2 separate regions of the Homo sapiens genome follow, and region 2 is linked to region 1. Evidence: promoter capture Hi-C in 16 types of primary human blood cells and fetal thymus (Javierre and others, 2016). All regions are on one chromosome and are shown on one strand. Each heading gives the region's core, a stretch centred on a gene start or on the middle of the fragment in contact. The rest is flanking DNA. Distances are from core to core; before and after follow the strand shown. Region 1 holds the start of FAF1 (Fas associated factor 1). Region 2 overlaps RNF11 (ring finger protein 11).

Region 1 (5,859 bases), core at 1,985-4,484:
CATGACTTTGAGCAAATTCTTAACTTGCCAGAGCAGCTTTATATTCTGTAAAGTAGTAGTTGTAAATATTAAATGAGATAAAGTTTGTAATGTATCTGTACATAGTAGACTCCCAATAAAAATTAATAAATTCAAAAGCATTTGCCATCTGTTATGTTCACAAGACTTTGCTATGTTTGCACTATGGTGAATATAAAAACACATGGCATAAAGCGGTTTATAATCTCAAGAAACTTTCAACCTTTGGGGGGAGATTAAACATACATATATGAAAACAATTAGAGAAAAAAATTACAAAATTTACTGGAGCACTAAGTTGTGTTGTAAAGATAGTAAAAGCAGTAATTAGAAAGGAGAAAGATCCTTACTGGCTTAAATTTTATGAAAGGGGTGGTCCTGAGAAAAGCATTTAGGAATTGGTATACAGAGTAATAACTAATATGTTTGGAGAGTTTTAAGGTTTATGAGGAATTTTCACAAGCATTTGATCATTCAACATTCAAAATCACAAGCTTTTTAGCCCAATTTTAGAGATAAAGAAATAGAACCAGAGAGCCTTTGTTAAAGAGCAGAGTTAGAACTCAAACCACAATTATTGACTATTAAATTTATGTTAGTGTGATACCAATATTTTATATTTTCCATGCATTTTCATAATTGTTTTTTCATTTATCAGAGGAAATAGTCCTGTGAGTAGCTGAAGTCAGAGAGATTAAATGACTCATCCAAGTTCCCTCAGCTAATTATTTGGAAAAGCAGTACTAATATATGCCTGAATGTCTAGTGTGTTCATCCCATTGTTCTACATACCACATTGTTTTAATTTCCAGATGGAGAGAAAGGAAAGAAAAAGGGAGCAACATGGGATTTGAATGGGTTCTGAGGTACACACGCATCATTACAGAGAAAAACTCTCAACTTTTTAGGACTGCATTAATCCTTGGCCATATAACTAGAAACAATTATTCACCTGCCTTATACTGAGGGTGGCCTATATGAATGGGGCAACTGAATTGCCACATTTATATTATTGGTGCTGTGTTTTGCCTCATGATTCACATTTGTGCTGACTTTTGGAATTACTTTCTTTTTAAAAAAATATTTATTTATTTATTTTGAAACAGTTTTACTCTGTCACCCAGGCTGGGGTGCAGTAGTGTGATCTTGGTTCACACTGCAACCTCCACCTCCCAGGTTCAGGTGATTCTCCTCCCTCAGCCTCCCTAGTAGCTGGGACTACAGGCATATGCCACCATGCCCAGCTAATTTTTGTATTATTTTTAGCAGAGATGGGATTTCACTATGTTGGCCAGGCTGGTCTTGAACTCCTGACCTCAAGTGATCTGCCTGCCTCGGCCTCCCAAAGTGTTGGGATTATAGGCATAAGCCACTGCCCTGGCCATGGAATTATTTTCTTACGGCTGAAAATTAAGCAAGACATTTTGATTCATGTGACTGTGGAGGGTTCTATTATCTAGCTAATTCTGGTCTAAACACAGATTAGTACTTAAGAACTGTAGGCCAGCCTATTTTCATTTAAGGAAACACACAGAATAAACTCAGATCATAATACAGTGCACTTCTTTATATTCAGTGAAACTGAACAATTAGGTCATATTTCTGATTTCTCATGAATATATTCCCAGTTTATGGAGCCTAGGCCTTGCTGGGTGTGGTGGTATGGCTCACACCTGTAATCCCCACTCTCAGGAGGCTGAGGTGGGAGGATGGCTTGAGCACAGGAGTTGGAAGCCAGCCTGGGCAACATAGTGAGGCCCTGTCTCTAAAAAAGTAAATAAATGATACAAGTTTAAAAAGTTCTTAAGGGAAGCCTAGGCCTTCATGCTACATGATGATTTCACTAGTTATTTTAGCTCTACAGGATAAAATCAGCAATCTTACTTCACATTTTCAAGCTTTTACATACTTTCCAAAGCAAGTAAATGCCCCATGACAATCCAGAAGCTGATATTTTCCCAAGTCAAGGATGAACAACTTCCACTGTCACACTTTCTCTAACCTGGACGACAATTACAAACTGTCACACTTCATTGTACATAGTCTTTGGCTGTTTTAGTTACAGAGGTTGTCAATTTCTGACCATGGGTTGAAACTTTCAATATTTGGTGAATATTCCAAAATAATTTCTTATGAAAATGAATAGGCCGGGTGCAGTGGCTCACGCCTGTAATCCCAACACTTTGGGAGGCCGAGGAGGGCGGATCACGAGGACAGGAGTTCGAGATCAGCTTGCCCAACATAGTGAAACCCCGTCTCTACTAAAAATACAAAAAAAACTTAGCCGGGCTTGGTGGCGGGAGCCTGTAATCCCAGCTACTATGGAGGCTGAGGCAGGAGAATCGCTTGAACCCAGAAAGCGGAGGTCGCAGCGAGCCGAGATCGCGCCACTGCACTCCAGCCCGGGCCACAGTGCGAGACTCCGTCTCAAAATAATAAATAAATAAATAAATAAATAAATAAATAAAAATAGACTGACTATATTCAAAGCTGGATTCAAGTTTTATCCCATTTGTAAGATGTCTCAGCTTAAAAAAACAAATATAACTGCAGCAGTAGAAAGGTTTTCCCTTTTTTCCCCCTTTGGAGCAACCCTATTAACTCGAGGTTGTTATTTCTCATAACTACCTTATCAATTAAAAAAAATGCTCCTCCTCTTCTCTGGAACGAGATTTTTACCTTTCTCAGCTTCCTCGTCTCTCCCATGTCTACCATGGCAGTCTGGTTACTTCTGTGTTACGGAGTCTGAGGATGCAGACGTCAGGGAGCTTGGGACTGGGTGTGACAGTGTGGATTCGGTTTTGACAGGTTGAGCGTGAGAGACTATATGAAGCTGTATTTTGCTGAAACATTGTAGAGAAAAACATATATTTCTGAAATGCTGTTTGTTAGACGAGTTGTAACAGTGTGTTTAGTTGGTTTGTGAGGGTGGTGTGTATTTGTGTGACTAACCACGTGAGGTGCACAATCTGGTCCCCGCCTCAGCTAGGGGGAGGCGCTATCCTGAGGCCTTTGCTTAAATCCAAACTGGAATAACCTGTTGCGAGACTTGAAGCTTCCGCAGCTGCAGGTTGCAGTCTCTGCCGCCAGCGCAGAGATCCTGGCCGGGTAGTCGCGCGCTCAGCGCTTGACAGGAGGGTGGTCACGTGGAGCCGCAAAGCGGCGCTTTGCGACCTCGATGACAGGCAAAATGTGCGACAGCCGTGGCGCTGGCCAACCAGGGGCGGAGGCGGCGGCCAGGGAGGAAGCGGAGGAGGCGGAGGCGGCCGCGGCGTTCGCCCGCCCGCTCGCTCGCTCGGTTTCCCCGCCCCCGCCGGGCTTAACGCCGCTGAAGGTATCCGGGTGCGCGCTGTCGCAACCTGCCCTCATCCTGGCCCGCGACTGTAAGACCGGACCCACATCCAGACCAATCTTCCTGTCCGGGCTGCTGCGACGCGGGCTCCGCAGGTTGCAGGCGGGCGGCCGGGGCGCCTGAAGGTTACCGAGTGCATGAGCGCCTAGCGCTTCCCGCGCTGCCCCGCCCGCTGGCCCGCCGACCCGCCCGCCGGCTCGCCCGCCAGCCCCTCGGCGCCCGGCGGCGGCGGCGGCGGTGGCGGCGACGGTCGCAGGAGGTGCCGTCTGCCTCCCAGGTGCGCGCTTCGCTCCCGGAGCCGCGGAACTCGGCGGCCGCCATGGCGTCCAACATGGACCGGGAGATGATCCTGGCGGATTTTCAGGTGAAGTATCTGGCCCTCTTCCCCTCCCACTTCCAACCTCGTGGGTTTCCGGTGCCACAAGGGAGTCTTCTTCCCAGCGTTTGAACGCTGCAGTGGTGTGTCATTTAGGCTTTTATACGGTGCGTGGCGTGTGTGTGTGTGTGTGGCGAGCTATGGAGAAGCGTATAATTTATATGCTATCATGAGTGTGTAGAATGTGTTAAGTACGGGTTGAATGGGATTGGAGGTATTAATGACTTGGGTTACAATGTGTGTGGAATGTGTAGTGTTTCCTGTATTATATGGGGGGACGTGTAGAGTTTTTGTTTTAATTGGTGTTGGACCATTAAGTATGGGATGTTTTGGGTGGTTCTGTGGGGAGAGATGTATGGAGTGTGAGCGTGGAGCGTGTGGTGTTATGGGCGTGGTGTATTTATATTGTATTAAGGGAAGAGTAAAAAAGCAGAATGATGAGATGGCGAGGGCAATGACAATGGGGTACTGAGGTCCTTTTCAAAGAGGAGTAAACATTTGAGACTTTGCCTAATTGGAATCTTTGGAGGGTAAGAAGATAACAAGGAGACAGATAAGACTATATATTCCAGAGTATCTCTGCAATGAATTCACAAGCTTAATAAATTACCTATTCATATTTGCGGATTCCCCTCCCCTACAGACTTGAATTGCTTGGTTGGTGTCCTTTCTCCAGGAATACTTTAAAGGATAAGTAAAGGCTGTTCTCTTAATAAACCCAGTCGTAGTGCCACTGACATGTAAGTATCTTAGGAAGGCCCTTTGAAAGTAGAACTGTATGCATTGTGAAAGACTTGGAGCTAGAACTAATATCCTGTGAGTGCTACCTTTGCCTTTTGATGTTTGGTGAAGGAATTATTTTAGTGAGATATTTTTGGCCATTTTGGCATCAACTTAGAAGCTACTGTCAAGTATAGGCAGACTTTTCCCTCTTTTTTAATACTCACATTGCACAGGTTCTAACACTAGCTTAGTAGGCAGTATTTTTCCTTGCTGAAATTTTGTTGGGCTTTTCTCTCTCTCTGTTCTATTAAGTTCCTTATTTTTTTTAAAATTAATTAATTTTTTTTTTTTTTTGAGACGGAGTCTCGCTCTGTCGCCCAGGCTGGAGTGCAGTGGCGCGATCTCGGCTCATTGCAAGCTCCGCCTCCCAGGTTCACGCCATTCTCCTGCCTCAGCCTCCCGAGTAGCTGGGACTACAGGCGCCGGCCACCACGCCTGGCTAATATTTTTGTATTTTTAGTAGAGACAGGGTTTCGCCGTGTTAGTCAGGATGGTCTTGATCTCCTGACCTCGTGATCCACCCTCCTCGGCCTCCCAAAGTGCTGGGATTACAGGCGTGAGCCACACTGCTCCCGGCCCTTATTTTTACAAATTAACGTTCAGATAACCATTTTCAGAGTTTGCTGTTTTGGTTACCCAGTGAAATCTGATATACAGGTATTAGGAATATGCATATATCTACAGTTTGATTAAACCATAACCTCCAAACTAATAAAGGAGTGTCCTTATAATAAAAGTTGACCATAAGATTTTGATGTTTTGTAGGTTTAGGATTGGCCTGAGGCTTTTTGCCTGCCTACATTTTAAAAAATTTTTCAATTAATTAATTAATTAAATTTTTTAGAGATGGGCCTTGCCATGTTGCCCAGGCTGGTCTTGAACTCCTGGGCTCAAGTGATCTACCCACCTCAGGCTCCGAAAGTGTTGGGAATACAGGTGTAAGCTCCAACACCCAGCCCTGCCTAAGTTTTTCATCATCGTCTTTTTGTTTTGTTTTTGTTCTCCAGTTCCATTTTTTATCTAATGTGGAATGCACTGTTTGAAAAAGGACTCTATATTTCAAGGTGTAGTTTTACCGTGTTACAAAATTGTCTTCTGATTTCCCTCATTAAAAACTTTATAAAGTAATTATAACTTTGTTTTAATTTTACCTTTTTATCTCTAATAACTTGCATCTGCTTTCTATTTTTTGTGTGTGACAATTATTATGCTTAACTGTTAACCTTATATTGGCTAAAGGACAGGAAATTTAGGCTTCTTGTACTCAGGCAAAGCAAGATTTTCCAGGGATTTTGGTTTGGAAATGAAAATGAAAATTTCGGCCGGGCAT
Region 2 (5,859 bases), core at 955-3,454, 310 kb before region 1:
ATTCCTCTATAATGCAATTATGAATAACCTTCATGACACTGTGTTTTGTATGTAGAAAACTGTTAGAGTTCAATATTCAACTCAATATAAAATAATAATAAGAAACACTTCTGATGTTAGGTTGAGACCACTTTTCCTTTTGCTAATGAATGATTTTTTTAGCTGTAATATCACTGAGGTGAACCAATAAGTCACCTTTGAGTACATATGAAAAAATAAACACATGCTAAATGGATAAAACATTACTACTACATCTTTACTAGACCATCTCTACCTCTAACACTTCAGAAGCTTAGAGATTTAAAGTATTCTTACATTAACTGCAAGAAACAAAGGAGAAATTCCTTCTTTTTTGAGATCACAACTATGAAGTCATATGGTTATACAAATTCTGCGTTTGTGTGCAAAACATAAAATACAATTATCTTTATTCTCCCTGCTTAGTTTTGTCAGTCAGCTAGCAGGATGTAATAGATACCTTTCCAAGAAACAGAGACTGAGATGTGTTTTGTATAACTTCAATAACCTCAGCACTACAGTAATGAGAGATGCAGTATCCTTTTGCTATGGTTCAAGACAAGAGGCAAGGAGGTCAGAAGAAAGAGAATAAATCAAAATTTTTACAACTGAGTAACTATTTCTCATTAGGTCTCACCACGGTGCCACCTTCATTTTTACATAAACGTGGTGGCATAATTCAATCTCAATAAATCAGAATTCTTAATATTTAAAATTTAACTTGACTTTCCATTATCACCATATTAACAACCAAAATAATTAGATAAAACACATAGGAAAGGGTAATATTAAACCCCACCTTAATAGAGTTGGTTTCTTGACACATTAACTTATTTTTTATAGAAAAGGGATAGTGCATCTCAGTTTGCTTACAAGCTAGGAGATCACTTTGAATTCTGCATTTCCTAACTGCAAACAGAATATAGCACTTATAACAGGTTATAAATAAACTGGTTTTCAAGCATAGAGCCAGCCCCAACGATAATAATACACTATTTAAAAAGACCTAAGGCAATGAATTCCATTTCCAATGGAAAAAAAGAACTGTGCAAACAAGCTTAAAACTACTTTTTTGTGTGTGCCAGTGTTATAAAATGTAGCTTTTAATAAAACCTTGACCCAAATGCCAGCAACTTCAGAAAAGAATTCGGGTGGGGAAGGGGAAGAGAAGAAAGTTATTTCATTTAGGAAAAATAACTACTATCTTTTTCCTAATCTTCAATACACACAATTTAAACAAATACAGCTGCTGTTAACACTTTACACAATTCCTATGTACTGGAGCAATAACAAGATCTAAATACAATTATATTTTTAAACATTGGGTCAAGGCTTTACATAAAAATACCATCCTACTTTTCCCACTAAGTTTCTAAAATATCACGTACTTTTTCCCCCAACATCTGCAGCCATCCAGGAATTTTAAGGAAACTTTTGTGCACGATCTTAATTCCTAATCCCTGGCTCTTTGGGCTCAGTGACAAAAGATCAAAACCACCAAAATGGTGGTTCACTTGAAGTCAGATAAGAGACCCTGGCTCAATTAGTCTCATAGGATGAAAGCAGTGCTGCATCAACTGGCTCCATGCAGGAGGGGCACGTGAAGGATCTCATCAACCAGTCATCTATACAGTCCAGGTGATAGATGTGCATGCACGGCAGAAATCGAATTGGGTCCCCATAAACAAAGTCCATCATACAGATCACACACCTGTTGAGAGCAATGGAGAGAAATCAGAAGGCATTTTCAGAAGTGTCCTATTCAGAAAACTCTTTAAATCCCATTAAAGACAGTGTTAATCTGAGTAACACATCAGAATGCTTTGCCTGTCATCTTATTGCCAAAGCATGCAAACTGAATTTTTTCCTAATGTTGATCTGTCCACAGTCTCTTATTTCAATCCCCTGAGAATTTGCAGGACTTAGGAGCAATCAACAGAGCAAAGAGAAATGGATTACATATGCATCAAATCTACTGCTGTGCTTGTAAACAGCTACATATTATAGCAGATACCTGAAGGAGAATGGGATTATTTTAGGTAGAAAAGCATCAGTTAGATCAACTTTGTTTTCTTGCACTATTTAGTGTAATCCTGGACTAAGACAATTTTCATTTTAGTAACTGTAAAACAGAAACACTAACTTCGGGCAACTTTGTTTCCTTGTGCTATTTAGAGTAATCCTAGAGTAAGATAATTTTCATTTTAATAACTGTAAAAACAGAAACACTAACTTCAGCCTACTTACTGGGTTGCTGTAAGTTAAAGCTCTCTTCATTAACACTAACTTTCTCTTATTTTACTTTATTTTACTTTTTGAGACAGAGTTTCAAGTGATTCTCCCACCTCAGCCTCCCAAGTGGTTGGGATTACAGGCGCGTGCCACCATGCCTGGCTAATTTTCGTATTTTCAGTAGAGATGAGGTTTCACCATGTTGGCCAGGTTGGTCTCGAACTCCTGGCCTCAAGTGATCCCCCGACCTCAGCCTCCCAAAGTGCTGGGATTACAGGCATAAGCCACTGTGCTCGGCCTGTGAAAATTCTTAATTACTACATAACATTCTCTTGCTAGTAGCCAGTAATAGAGCTATGAAAAAAAATTAAACATTCTCTTGCATTAAGCGAAGTGTTTCAATATATTAAATGTCTGACTTTCTAAAGTGCAGGAGAAAAGGCAAATTTTTCAAAAGCAATCTGAAAATAAAACTTTGAAATGTACAAATTAATTAAAACTTACTCCCGGATCTTTTTTTCTGATCCATCTCTTCCAGGGTCATAAACTCCTTTAGGCAGATGTTGTATAAGACCTATTCTTTGAGCTATCCTAATTTGTTCCTCTTCAGTCAGCTGAGTTGCTAGCCGAGTCTGGCTAGGTGTTGGGTGGTAGACTGGAACTGGAACTTGTTCCTAAAATATTAAAATATAGAGGAAAAAGATTATTTTTTAAAAACCTTTCGAGGGCTTATTTTTTGGTCAGAGATAGAAGGGAAAGGGAGCCCTGGGAGGGGTAGGAAGCTGGGCTAGTGTTTGGCTGTATGACTGTGTTTCACCCTGCCTTAACTTCAGCTACTAGAATAAAACATACACACACCAAAACATTCTCATTCTGCCTAAAGGATATAAACACAGACTTCACTGAACTGGCATGGAATGTTAAATGAACTATTTCCACATGATAAGAGACCAGCCTGGACAACATAGCAAGACCTCATCTCTAAAAATAATTTTTAAAACTTTTTAAATGGACTGGACTATGGCAAAAATAAATCTAAAAGTTATCTAAGACTAACTTTCCCATTTCATAGGACCAAGCTTGCCTACAGTCACTAATTGACAATACTGAAATTAGAATTCTGCTGCTCCTAATCCAACTGATTTTTTACACAACAAAACAATTCAAAGGAATCGTGTGTATAACCCCCACCTTTTTTTGAGATAGGGTCTCCCTCTGTTGCCCAGGCTTAAGTGCAGTGGCACAAACACAACTTACTGTAAACTCAACCCCCTGGGCTCAAGCAATCCTCCAACCTCAGCCTCCTGAGTAGTGGGGCCACAGGGTTGAGCCATGGTGCCTGGCCTATAATAATATTTAAAACTGAGCAACTCTGATGGAATGAAGCTGGGATGGAGTGTGGCCTAGAAGGGATGAGGCTCCCCATCCCCAAGCCCTCACCTTGGTTACCTTTGCAGAATCCTCAGAATCAACAGAGCAGTCTGAAAAACACTACTATCTCAGAAGATGAGATTTTCAGTCTGAAGAATTAAATTATAAGATTTCAGTCTCAGCTCGGCTACTTACTGTGATTGCTTGGACCAAGTCTCTTAATGTCTTTGAATAAAGCAGATAACAGTACCCACTTTAAAGAGTTGATATAATCATGAGATAACTAAGAGCTTTGTAAATGCCAATATTTGTAAATTATTCTAACATCTCCCCAACGTCATGATTCTCCCCATCATGATTCTCTGCTTTGCAGACTTTAAGCTAAGTGCTACTGTCCTTGGCTTTGGTCCTGGCTTTCTGGCTTCTCTTTGAATACTACAAACTCTTGGACTCTGTTGTGATCTCTGCCAGCTCTGAGTTCTTCAACCCTTGAATTACCATTTCCAGTCTAAATTACCTTCCTGAATCTTAGCCTCAGTCCTAGTTGACCAGTTTTGATGAGCTGTCATCCACACGCAAACTGGGAACAAATTGGTTTAAGACTAAGATAATATAAAGGGTCTCTTAAATCCTTGAACCTAACAAACAAAAATAACTAAATTGTTTTAGAGAAAATAAACTCCAACTATGGGTTTTTCAGAGGCTAGATTTCTTCAGTCTTGTGGTTCACATACGTGTAGAGAACACAGAAAGCAGAACAGAAAAGGAAAGTTCTACTTTACGGGGAAACATTAATAAACATTAAAGAAGAAAATAAAAACTATATTTTAATTCACGTTATGAGTGTATTTTCTCCTTTGGTATTTTTTTGTTAAAACAAAGGAACCCTCTCTATATCTTTTAGATATTTAAAATGATTGAACAATCTAATTTCAGTTTACATGGTTCAGAAAACCATAGAGGAAAGGAAATGACTAAGACCTCCTGATATTTTAAAGATGAATGTGGCCTCACCCTTCTTACCACACATGCCTAATTTTAAATTTTAATTCCCATGATACTTGTTTTAAAATGGCTTGATATCTGAGTTATCAATTGTTTCATAACTAGACAGCCACTGATTTTCTAGGCAGCAAAATGGAATCCTGATTCAATTGTTGGCTAACAGACACTGAGTGAGTAGAAGATTAGACAGGGGTATAAAAACAACAATTTTAAAAGATGTGATGGCTGGGCATGGTAGCTCATGCGTGTAATCCCAGAACTTTGAAAGGCCGAGGCAGGCGTATCACCTGAGGTCAGGAGTTCGAGACCAGCCTGGCCAACATGGTAAAACACCATCTCTACTAAAAATACTAAAATTAGCTGGGCGTGGTGGTGCACGCCTGTAATCCCAGCTACTCAGTAAGCTGAGGCAAGAGAACTGCTTTAACCCGGGAGGCAGAGGTTGCAGTGAGCCAAGATCTTGCCACTGTACTCTAGCCTGGGCAACAGAGAGAGACTCCATCTTAACAACAAAAAAAGATATGGATTTGGGGGTGGTTCCCACCATTCCCTATCTGCGAACACTATATGGTTTATGTTCAACACCTGCTTCCCCTCTGAGAATCAGGAATTTTGTCATATGCTAGGCAGTGGGTGCCTAATCAGTACCTGGGGCACTGAGTCTCCAAATGAGCTTCTCTGGCAGAAAACCTTTCATATATGTTGAAGGAATTAAGCATGTCCTGTGTGACTCCACTAGGAGATAACTCTTGGAAGCTTGTGCTTAGTTCCCTTTAGACCAAAGCACCTTTCCCCTTAGCTGATTTTGCTTTGATTCTTTGCTGTAACAAATCATAGATGTGAGTAAGATTATATACTAAGTCCTAAGAGCCCTCCTATTGAATCACCAAACCTGGGGACTGTTTTGAGGACCTCCAACGCCAGTGCTAGGTTGTGCTCCCACTTTATATTTGCAAAGCTACTGTGTTTCGTCCCCAGCTGAAAACAAATGAAAAATAAATAAATATTTTGATTAGCCTATTTCAGGGCCTAAATATGGACCTAATGACAAAAGGTATACAAACACATCTCACTGCAACCTCCAACTTCTAGGCTCAAGTAATCCTCCCACTGCAGCCTCCCCAGTAGCTGGGATTACAGGTACACAACACCATGCCCAGCAATTTTTTTGTTTTGGTAGAAACAGTGTCTCGCTGACCAGGCTGACCAAACTCCTGGCCTCAAGCGATCCTC

What was found. Contacts are between HindIII fragments. The CHiCAGO score rates a contact against its expected background, and 5 or more counts as called.
Region 2: a contact is called between a fragment that was not itself captured here and the fragment with the promoter of FAF1 in region 1, in 1 of 17 cell types (monocytes). The highest score is 6.5, in monocytes.

What each region holds. Positions count from the first base shown.
Region 1 is chr1:50,957,642-50,963,500 of GRCh38, reverse strand. FAF1 (Fas associated factor 1) reads left to right here and starts at 3,234. Exons shown (of 19, transcript NM_007051.3): 1 at 3,234-3,734. The coding sequence starts at 3,690. It also overlaps a transcript of CDKN2C not described here. RefSeq lists silencers at 3,268-3,427, 3,538-3,587 and an enhancer at 3,898-3,947. The HindIII fragment of the contact is 1,270 bases long and covers 3,076-4,345 here.
Region 2 is chr1:51,267,021-51,272,879 of GRCh38, reverse strand. RNF11 (ring finger protein 11) reads right to left here. Exons shown (of 3, transcript NM_014372.5): 2 at 2,755-2,924; 3 at 1-1,729. The coding sequence ends at 1,558. Among named protein-coding and RNA genes, the nearest start is that of RNF11, 34 kb to the right of the region's middle. The HindIII fragment of the contact is 2,254 bases long and covers 1,078-3,331 here.